2 separate regions of the Homo sapiens genome follow, and region 1 is linked to region 2. The links are contacts of gene promoters, found by promoter capture Hi-C in blood cells and fetal thymus (Javierre and others, 2016). All regions are on one chromosome and are shown on one strand. Each heading gives the region's core, a stretch centred on a gene start or on the middle of the fragment in contact. The rest is flanking DNA. Distances are from core to core; before and after follow the strand shown.

Region 1 (5,925 bases), core at 2,029-4,528, 1.0 Mb after region 2:
CATTTTAAAACACAAAATGGTCCATATCTTGAACCATACATGCCATATAGAGCCAAAGTCGTGTATAATCTAATAAAGTAATTTACCTAACTTTGACATAATCAGAAAGAAGCCATCTATAAATAGCTTTTGTGGCATGAGTCATAAATGTTCTTCCTTTGAAACTTGTCTTCTGTAGAAACCAGGGCAGAGCTCCACAGTGATCCAAATGGAAACTTAAAAAGAAAGAGGCTGCATTAATTCTTAAAATTATTATCCATCAGATACCATGTAATGAAACTGTTGCTTACTGTACAAAACAAGTTTTATATAAACAACTATGTGCTGATACTTTCAGAAAAACCAAGAGTAGGTATGTGTAGAAGGAAGAAGTAATGCATACAGTTCTAAAATGGAGGAAAGATGTTTAAAGTATTGTTTTTAAACAGCAAAAAACTTTATTAGTGAATTAGGGAGGAAGAAGAATATCCCAAGCCTACTCCTGGCAGCCAGAATTACAGCAAACATTTTAACAGAATAAAGTTGAAACATGGATATCTCCCTGAGGTCACTGTCTTGTCACATTTTTCTATATGAACTCTATTTAAAAATAGTTTCAATAAAGGTGAAATGGCGTTCTTATAGAAGAATGTGATAAAACAGTGACCTCAAGGAGATATCCTGGAAAAGGGCTTTCTTAGTCTCAAGTTTTACAATGATTCAAGTTCTGTACTATCTCCTTCTCACATACTCACTGAACTTATACATAGAGGTAGGTAAGTTTTTCATAGCAAACTTCTCTAGCCTGTGATGACATTACGGAGTGTTGGTTTAGACTCAGATGTCTGCAATATGCTTCCTAGCAGAAAACACTCTTTTAAAAAACCAAACTCTCAAAATCTAGTAAAGAATGATCTTGATAGTAAAAGTCCGTGAAAAAGTGTCATTAATAAAGGGAAAAACTTACTGACTAATTAATAGGAGATCAATCTCAGCTGGGTCAATTAAATCAATATAAGGAAGAGCATCCATTCCTTCTAGGCCAGGGTGGATCCCACAGTCGAGCTGAAAGAAACAGGAAAAGAGATCACAATCTCCTGCACATTTTATTAAAATTCATTCGGCAAATAGGCAATAATTCTAGTTCCATCACCCATATACTCAAGATGGACTCCAGGCACTAGCACTTGGAACATGATTCTTATTAAATGTGGCAAATATGCCATTAACAATTCTAACTTCCCAACAAATTTAAAATATAGCTCACATTTAGGGGTCACAGGATGCAAAGTACAAAACAGCTTCTTTCCAGCTACTTTTGGTCGTCATTCTAACAACGAATTAAATCTTTTTCAAAAACTTTGATATCAGATTAAAATTTTAAAAGTTTATAGATTTACTACTACCAGATCGACTCTCGTGAGAAGATAATAATTAGAAATGGGAAACTTACCTGATCAGGGTAATTTAAATATTTTAAGGCATTAGGGAACAAATTCTTAAGACTCAGTCATTAAAGTTACTTATTTTTATGGCGTTACTACCAAATTAACAAAACAGATGACTAAAAGGATGACTATGTCTGACCTATACATGTTCTTTTCAGATTGGGAGGAGTTGAGAAGAAAGAGGAATCAAAGGAATCTGAGACACAGAACTGACTTTCTAATGAGTACCTTAGAAACTATCTCCTCTAACCCCTCTACCTTTCAGGCTTAGAGAAGCAAAGTGACTTGGCCAAGGCCGGCAGCCCCAGTGGGACCTGGGGATCCAAGCTTCTAGGCCAAGGCTTGATCCCCACATGCTGGAGGCGGCTAGAGCTCTCAGTGTGTTCAGAGTGCTTGGGCCCTTGGGATCTTCCACTGGGGGTGGGGCAGTTAGGCTGGCTCAACCCTTCAGGAGTGGAAGAGGGACTTTGAAGAGGTAACAGTTCAACAGATCTAGCTGACAATTTTACAGTCATAGAATATATCTTCTTAATCAACTAAATTACTAAGTAGAAGTGTGTATTAGTTTTTCTCATTAACACTATACAGCATAGATTACATGTACTATAACATTTTTCTGGGAGCTAAAAAGATAACTAGTCTATGAGAAAAGACTAACACCCAATACAGACAGAGCCATACTATTAAACTGAGTACAAAAATAGTAATTACCATTATTTTTCTTCCTTTGAACTCGAGAATAATACATGATCTTCCTACTTCTTGCCCAGCTCCACTGTAAATATTCAAGGGGAGAAAAAGAAGGATTAAAAAAAATCAAAACCAAGTCCAATAAACTTACACTTTTTTACAATGTACACTACATGCCATCTGATGACAGCACCTCACTGAAAAATTCTGAGACGTAAGAGAGTTCTACAAAATCACAAAGACAGGGAAGAACAGTGTCCACATGAGAACAGATGAAAACTGATCCTTGGGAGTCCAGGGATCTTGCAGTTCTTAAAATTAAGAGAGAAGGCGGTACAGATCCAAGAAGCCCAAAGGTTTGGGCTTGATTTAAATTCAATTTTCTGAATTTTAGGATTAAATTATAATGTATTTAAAATGTAAACTAGCAGTTACGCAGATTATATAATAATACTTCTAGAATTAGCACTTAAGTAGAAAGCCATAAGCATTTCAACACTGTCATCTTCTTTAAGATCATAATGTGTATTTGCCAAATGGCTTAAATTTAAATGGCCGGGTGCGGTGGCTCACGCCTGTAATCCCAGCACTTTGGGAGGCCGAGGCAGGCAGATCACGAGATCAGGATATCGAGACCCATCCTGGCTAACACGGTGAAACCCCGTCTCTACTAAAAATACAAAAAATTAGCCAGGCGTGGTGGCGGACACCTGTAGTCCCAGCTACTCGGGAGGCTGAGGCAGGAGAATGGTGTGAACCCAGGAGGCGGAGCTTGCAGTGAGCTGAGATCGCGCCACTGCGCTCCAGCCTGGGCAACAGAGCGAGACTCTGCCTCAAAAAAAAAAAAAAAAAATTTTTTTTTTTAAAATACTTATTCATACTGTGAATTTCAATCACTTTTTCTTCTACTTTCTGTTATTTCAGCATATTTTATACCAACTACTTACATAATTTTTGTTTCTTCTTAATAATTTCAGCCATAATTTGCAATGGTCACAAGGCACACTTTAAGTTAAACCTCATCTTTCAAATCCCTCACCTTCTTTGATGCCTTTTCCCAACCATTCTAGCTCACAATCCACTCACTCACTCAACATTAAGCAGCTTCTATTTGCCAAGCACTGGATTAAGTGCCTAGGACATGGAAATGCCTTACAGGGACCCTGACCTCAAGGAACTCAGTCAGATGGACATGCAATGGATCTATCCCCAAACTGAGATCCTACCTCCAAACAGGTGTTGATACAGAAGATCAAACAACTGTGGATGAGAGCCGCCATAAATTCCTGGCCTTCCACTTTTTAAACATTTTTTATTTGTAATTATTGTGGATACCCTGGCCTTCCACTTTAACTGGCCCTCAATGTTGCCTGGCTGTTTTCTCCATTTCATTTCCATATCAACTATTTTCAAACTTTCTTCCCTTTCCCAAATTTTCCAACCTTCTATCCTCTTCTTCACTTGAGGCATGGGCCATCTTCTGCATCAAAAAAATAAACAGTCCATTTGTAAATTTCCTCAACTTCATGTTGGTACAATAATTAAGAATACATGTACCAACAGGGTACCAACCTGCCCACATCTGTCTCCTTCTATTTCTCCTCTATAGATAGAATAGACCTCTCTTTCCACAATGAAACTTTCCACCATTCTACTCTACGTACTCCCTCCCTCCTTCTGAGGAACTCAACACTGCTGTGTCATTGACATTTTCCTCACTGTCTGCTCTTTACCATCCAATCCAAATTTAAACATACTACAGCCATGTTCATCCCCAAATTAAAATCCCTTGACTCTAAGCTCCTTTAGTTCCCACTTTATTCTTTCCCCAGACCACCTCCCAGGGCAGTGGACCCTCTTGTACTTCCTCACCTTCTACTCGCTCCTCAATTCGCTATACTCTGGCTTTTACCAATCACTTTTCTGAAACTGTCCTTGCTGCTCAGTAGTCATTTCAGTCTTTTTTTTTTTTTTGAGACAAGGTCCCCCTATGTTGCCCAGTCTGGCCTTCAACTCCTGGGCTCAAGTGATCCTCCCGCCTCAGCCTCCCAAGTAGCTGGAACTATAGGTGTCAGTCCCTATCTTGTTCTCTTGGCAGCCGTTGTCACTCCTAAGGAGTACCTGCTCCTTCCTCAAGCACCTCTCCCTTGGCTTCTCTGACCTGATGCTCTCATCTTGTCTTGCTGGCTTTCCTGTTTCCTTCACATATTCAGCCACCTCTGCCTACCCTTTAAATGTTGATATTCCGAGGGTTTGCTCCTTGGCCAACTTCTCAATCTTCATTCTCATCTTTCTGACATGCTAAGGACTTCCAAGCCTGTATTTGTAACCCAGATTGTTCTTCTGAATTCTAGACCTTTAATACATACACGTGACACTAGGTATCTCTACTAGGATCTCTCCCGGGACTTCATATTCAAGATGCCAAACTAGTTTCCACCACATGCCCCGTACTTGCTCTACTTTCTTCCTGAAATGCTTTGTCTTCAGATATTGATGTGGTTGGCTCCTTTGTATCATTTGGGTCTCAGTTCCAACGTCACCTTCTCAGATGCTTTCCCTTGACTACCTCCTCTAATTTGCCCTTCACAGCAAGCCACAACCCAGCATCAGTTATCTTAATACAACTACATGAAGTTATTGTACCTACTTATGTCTTCTTTCAGGCTACTAAATGAAAGCTTCCTAAGAACAGAGGCATTGTCCATCTTATTCACTGCTGTATTGCTACAGTACCTGGCATGTAGCACATCACAAAAAATACTTATTGAATGAACAAAACTCCTCAATTTTGAACCTTGGAAAGATTATGCTAAATGAAAGATGCCAGAGACAAAAGAGTATGTATTGTATGATCACACTTACATGAAATGTCCAGAACAGGCAAATCTATAAAGAAGTAGATTAGTGGTTGCTTAGGGCTGGAGAGGTAGTGGGGATTGTCTATGACTGCTAATGAATACAAGGTATCTCTTGGGAGTGATGAAAATGTGCTGGAATTAGAGAGAGGTGATGGTTGTATAACTCTATGTTAAGAACGACTGAATTATACTCTTTAAATGAGTTGTATGGTATGTAAATTGTGAGTTGTATGGTATGTAAACTGTATCTCAATAAAGCTGTTACGAAACAACCAAATTCCCAAATTTACTCCAGAGTTGCCCCATCTCTTATACTCCTTGAGTGAATAACACTACCCTTTCCCAACTGCCAAACTTAGGAATCTGATCATAACATCCTCTCTGCCCTGCCTTCCCTCCCCACAACCACCCTTCCAGATACAGCTGATCAGCCACAAAATCCTGAAGATCTCATTTGCATACTCTCTCACACTCACATCACTCACTACAGGCTCTCGTCAGCTAGACTTAGAATCTTTCAATATCTCACTGAATCTGCTCTACTCAATCCATGCTTTTATTCATCCATGCTTTTATTCATCTGCTACACTGCTGCCAGGAGAGATTTTCCTAAAACATAATTCCCACAATATCCATGCTTGCTTAATAGCCTTCGCTGGCTCCCTGTAATTGACTTGATAAAGGTCCAAACTCCTGTGTATACGAGGTGCTTCCTAAACTGGACCTCAACTGCCTGTCGCTTCATCTGCTAACTCAACTCTTTAGCTACAGCCATGAGGAATCTGGCCACAAGCTGTGACCACTCTCACTTTCATATGTGCCACTTCCACTGCCTAGAACATCCTGGGCCCCCCAGTCTTTAACTCCTACTCATTCTTTAGGACTCAGCTCAGGCATCACATTTTTCAGGATCCACGAGGTATCCTTTTTTCCTCAATCTGTCAGAA
Region 2 (5,448 bases), core at 184-2,683:
TGACTGTGCCTCAGACCTGGTTTTGGGTACCAAGGAAGTTTTTCAAAACCTCACAGGGCTTTGTAGCTATAAAGATATGTAAGGATCCTTGGGTTATCTGAAGCCCAGAGAAGGGAGATAACTTGTCCAAGAGCACACAGCAAGTTGGGGGCAGCGCTGGGCCAGTGCTCTGAGCTCCTCCAACCCCGCCCCCACCCACCCAAGGCTAGATCTAGATCTACCCACTCCTCTCCTTAACTCTTCATCGGCTGTACTCCCACCCTAAGGAGTCGAAATCCCCACCCTAGGGAGAGACATATCCTGTCTGGATTGTCCAAAAGGGAATGAAAGGTAAAAATGAAAAAAAAAAAAAAAAGTGTCCCCAATTCAAGTGCAGTGCCTCCCTGGTGCGGGCATTCCAGCGTGGCCTGGAGTGAGTGGCAGTCCACCTCCAGAGGCGTCCCCTGGGCGCTCCTAGGGACTCGAATTTCCCACGCGGCTTTTTGCTTTATGTATTCACTGTTTAGACGTTTTCGGTCAAAGCATTTTGGGACTTCCGTAACTCTCAGAGCGCGCCAGGGAGCCGCCCTTAAAGATACCTAGTTACTGATGAGTTCCATCCGGTAAAGCAGAGGGTAGTGGGCGGCTTGGAGACTCAGGATCCGGGTCCCCTCACGCTCCTGGCTGAGTCCCTGGCTTCACAGGGGAAACTACCTCCGCAGGCCAGGACCCATCTAGTTACAGGATACCTCGATGTTACAAAGACGAGGCTTCCAGCGCGGGGGCGTGGAGGCGGCTGCCAGCCCTGCCCGCAGCGTGCTGGCGACCCCCGGGACGCCCCTTCCCTCCCGCGCCTCTGCTCCCTAGCTGGTGGGAGCAGAGCGGCACCGGGATCACTTCCAGGTCCCTTGCACCGGAGGAATGGGCGGCAGCAGGGTCCGGAGTCGGCCCGGCGGGGCCCACGTGGCCAGCACATCGGTCCTCCGCTCGCGATTTCCCTTTTCCGCTCTCGGGCACGAGGTACTGAACGCCAGGTGGAAGCACAGCTGTGCAGCTACAGGCTCTGCCGTTCAGCTGCCGCGGGCCGGGGCCGGGGCCTGCGGCGTCGTGCGCGTGCGCGGACCAGTTCCAGGCGGGCGAGACCGCCGCAGGGCGGGGCGGGGCGAGGCGGCCGCAGGGCGGGGAGGGCGGGGAGAGGCGGCCGCAGGGCGGGGAGGGCGGGGCGCGAAGCCGGGGGCGGGGGCCACGCGTGGGGCAGGCGGTGCTCGGCTCGGCTGACGTCGGCCCGCCGGCGCCCCACCAGCTCCGCGCGGGCCCGGGTTGGCCACCGCCGGGCCCCCGCCCCTCCCCCGGCGGTGTCCCGGCCGGAACCGATCGTGGCTGGTTTGAGCTGGTGCGTCTCCATGGCGACCCGCCGGTGCTATAAGTAGGGAGCGGCGTGCCGTGGGGCTTTGTCAGTCCCTCCTGTAGCCGCCGCCGCCGCCGCCCGCCGCCCCTCTGCCAGCAGCTCCGGCGCCACCTCGGGCCGGCGTCTCCGGCGGGCGGGAGCCAGGCGCTGACGGGCGCGGCGGGGGCGGCCGAGCGCTCCTGCGGCTGCGACTCAGGCTCCGGCGTCTGCGCTTCCCCATGGGGCTGGCCTGCGGCGCCTGGGCGCTCTGAGGTGAGGGACTCCCCGGCCGCGGAGGAAGGGAGGGAGCGAGGGCGGGAGCCGGGGCGGGCTGCGGGCCCCGGGCCCCGGGCACGTGTGCGGCGCGCCTCGCCGGCCTGCGGAGACACGTGGTCGCCGAGCGGGCCACGACCTTGAGGCGCCGCTTCCTCCCGGCCCGGGGTTCTCCCGCGGCTGGATAAGGGTGATCCGGGCGCCTCGTTCTGCCCCCGTCTTCACAGCTCGGGGCTGGAGGGGCCTAGGGGAGACCCACCCGGAGACCCTGCGGCCCCGCGCCGGCCTCTTTCCCAACCCTTCGGCGGCCGCGCGCTGGCCGGGGAGCCGTTGGGGAGGCCCTGGCGGCCGCGCAGCAGGTGCAGGGGCGCAGAGCCCGGGCTCGCCTTGGTACAGACGAGCGGGCCCCGGCCTTGGCGCCTTCAGTTTCCTTCCAGTTTTTATTTTCGCTGTGTCTACAGAGCAGATGACACCAATTTGGAAACCCGCGAGAGTGGGTAGAGCTAAGATAGTCTTGCTGTAGTAGCTGTGATATTAGATGCTCGGCCATGACTTAGAGGTGTTTATTTAAGGACTGTGAATGACTCGGTGATTTCGGAAAAGCTTGGCTTAGATGAACGGACATACACAGGGGAGACAGCCCTAAGGTTTGCAGAAAAGGCTGATTGTGCTGTTTGCGAAGTCGAAATAATTGGTGAAAGTGTAGAAGGCAGAACCTCTCAGGAATGTCTGGGGAGGACAAAGAATGTGTTGGCTGACTTTGTTTAAACATAAAATTGGGCAGACTTTAATTGATTTGTGAAATTTTTTTCAAAGTTTGTTTGAATTAGCCCCTATCTCTTCTAACATTATCCTCTTGTGCTAATTGATTGACCATTTTAAATAACTTAGCTGTTACAGAAAGACCGAAAGGTGTTCTTCAGTAAAATATATTCAAGTAAGTTACTTAAGTAACGCCTTAAAAGATACAGAAAAGCAAAAAAGTATTGGCGTATTAAAAAGAAATCAAAACTTTCCAAGTTTAGGCCTGAACATTGCCTTAAAAATATTTAATAAGGCCTCAAATGACCCAGTCCGAGACTGCATGAGCCTATTTATTATTAAATTGTAAATATTCTTCATATAAACAAAAATATATAACCATGTCTGTAACAAAAATGGTTTTGCTAGCGTTGTTACTCTCTTCCCTTCTCCGAGGGGTGATTTAGGCAACTTCGGAGGTTGACAATGCCAAGCAGTCACAATAGATAGAGCTTTAAAGCAAATTCTATGCATGGGTTTGGATTTATGACAGGCCCGTCACCCTGGGCCTGTCATAGTACCCCATGCCAGAGCAAACTGTGTCCCCGAACCATTGCCTGGCCTCTGTGCCCGTAGGCTGCTGGCACTGAAGTGGGTTGCACAGTGGAAAAGAAGAAAGCTCTACCTGGCAGAAATTTTTAAAGGTTAAAATAAATAATTTTAAGAAAGCTGGTTCACAAGGTGCCACATTTGATGAAAGCAAAATACAGTGGCTTTTATTGTTACTAGAGTGATGTTCTTGCTTGTTTTTCTTTTTTGGTGAAGTTAGCCCCAAATTATTCTCATAGCTAAGCAAATACGAGAGTGACTGTAAGGACAGTTGGCATTCCCGGAATTGCTAAACTTGGTAGGCAACGCTGGTTTAAGAATACTGAGTTCTAGCCGGGCGTGGTGGCTCACGCCTGTAATCCCAACACTTTGGGAGGCTGAGGCAGGCGGATCACCTGAGGTCGGGAGTTGGAGACCAGCCTGACTAACATGGAGAAACGCCATCTCCACTAAAAATATAAAATTAGCCAGGCCCCGGGTGTGGTGGCACATGCCGGTAATCCCAGCTACTCGGGAGACTGAGGCAGGAGAATCGCTTGAACCCAGGAGGCGGAGGTTGAGGTGAGCCGAGATCATGCCATTGCACTCCAGCCTGGGCAACAAGAGTAAAACTCTGTCTCAAAAAAAAAAAAAAAAAATACTGAATTCTGATCAGGTAACAGCAACTGTAATACAATGTGATAAGTTGACTTGAAGATTACAGTTTTTAAGAAGTATATACCCAGCTAATACATGAAAATTAACTCGTAAAATCTCAAATGCTCCAGACATTTCCATGATGCCTGTTGGTCAGTAAAAATCATTCTAAGACTTAGTGGAAGTAGGAAATGTTTGTATGGCTGTGTATAAAGGCTATAATGTAATCCCAGCACTTTGGAAGACCGAGGCGGGTGGATCACCTGGGGTCAGGAGTTTGAGACCCACCTGGACAACGTGGTGAAATCCTGTCTCTACTAAAAACACAAAAATTAGCCGGGCATGGTGGCAGGCGCCTGTAATCCCAGCTGCTGGGGAGGCTGAGGCAGGAGAATCGCTTGAACCCGGGAGGCAGAGGTTGCAGTGAGCCAAGATTGCACCGCTGCACTCCAGCCTGGGTGACAGCGTGAGACTCTGTCTCAAAAAAAATAAAAAAGTCTATAATGCTATTTTAAGTTTCTAAGGAACTGAAACTGCTCTGAAATAAATCAGACCATTATAAGACTTTTTTCCATATCAGTGAGCTAAGTGCAGATAAGCTTCTGAAACTTGCATGCTAGATTTTTTTGGTACAAATATTTGAAATGCTTAGTGTGCTGCCTTGGAAAAACCTGGTATTTTTTGTTGTGTCCTTATACTGCCAAGGTTTATGGAATCATGTACCTTATGCCTAGTAATAATTAGGATGACCAGGCCAGTGAGTGGTTCATATCCGGGGCATGATTAGCTCTGCGTGTGCTCAGCCAGTGCCCCATCTTCAACTCGATGTGTTCCTAAGGTAGACAGCAAATTCCCTATTTTATTTCTCAGATTGTCACTGCTGTTCCAAGGGCACACGCAGAGGGATTTGGAATTCCTGGAGAGTTGCCTTTGTGAGAAGCTGGAAATATTTCTTTCAATTCCATCTCTTAGTTTTCCATGTAAGTATTCAGTTTACATTTATGTTGCAGGTTAATCTTAAGAATTGTATTGCTAAGGCTTCTAAGTGAATTTCTCCACTCTATTTGCATTTTGTTGCATTTCAGAGGAACATCAAGAAATCATGAACAACTTTGGTAATGAAGAGTTTGACTGCCACTTCCTCGATGAAGGTTTTACTGCCAAGGACATTCTGGACCAGAAAATTAATGAAGTTTCTTCTTCTGTAAGTATATGAGGCCCATGCTGGCAGTGCAGCTGAGAGTGCCAGGCAAGTGGAAAACTTTGGCAAGGTCTAAGGAAGAGCAATGAGGCTTACATGTCTTGTTATGGAATGTAGAAATTAATTCACTGGTGGTAAATTAATAGTGATAATGGTGATACTCATATCAGTGGCTAGACTCAAAAGAGCAGGATTCATTGTGACTGATGGGAATGAAGGTCGCTGGCTATTGGTGTGGTGTGTGGTGAGGCTGCTAGTGAGTCACCTGTGACCACTCTTGTTTCAGGATGATAAGGATGCCTTCTATGTGGCAGACCTGGGAGACATTCTAAAGAAACATCTGAGGTGGTTAAAAGCTCTCCCTCGTGTCACCCCCTTTTATGCAGTCAAATGTAATGATAGCAAAGCCATCGTGAAGACCCTTGCTGCTACCGGGACAGGATTTGACTGTGCTAGCAAGGTAAGCGATAGCAGCAGGCCTCAAAAGCGTTGTATAAAATGGGCCTGGTATTCCCCACGAGGCAGATACAAGTTGTGTTTTTTGGGCAATAAATGCTCACTAAAGGCAAATGGGGCGGGGGGGTACATGACAACTTCCCATGCTTTTCTGTTTATTCCACGT

The links. Contacts are between HindIII fragments. The CHiCAGO score rates a contact against its expected background, and 5 or more counts as called.
Region 1: a fragment that was not itself captured here is called in contact with the fragment with the promoter of ODC1 in region 2 in 2 of 17 cell types (activated CD4 T cells and non-activated CD4 T cells); the score reaches 6.3 in activated CD4 T cells.

What each region holds. Positions count from the first base shown.
Region 1 is chr2:9,425,042-9,430,966 of GRCh38, reverse strand. CPSF3 (cleavage and polyadenylation specific factor 3) reads right to left here. Exons shown (of 18, transcript NM_016207.4): 2 at 2,139-2,202; 3 at 947-1,044; 4 at 87-215. Among named protein-coding and RNA genes, the nearest start is that of CPSF3, 4.4 kb to the right of the region's middle. The HindIII fragment of the contact is 3,044 bases long and covers 1,757-4,800 here.
Region 2 is chr2:10,444,312-10,449,759 of GRCh38, reverse strand. It overlaps ODC1 (ornithine decarboxylase 1), which reads left to right and starts at 1,433. Exons shown (of 12, transcript NM_002539.3): 1 at 1,433-1,639; 2 at 4,496-4,605; 3 at 4,711-4,829; 4 at 5,113-5,286. The coding sequence starts at 4,728. It overlaps SNORA80B (small nucleolar RNA, H/ACA box 80B), which reads left to right and starts at 2,911; the gene lies at 2,911-3,046. It overlaps ODC1-DT (ODC1 divergent transcript), which reads right to left and starts at 32. Exons shown (of 5, transcript NR_110597.1): 1 at 1-32. RefSeq lists silencers at 563-2,042, 3,267-3,496 and an enhancer at 2,163-2,252. The HindIII fragment of the contact is 2,497 bases long and covers 1-2,244 here.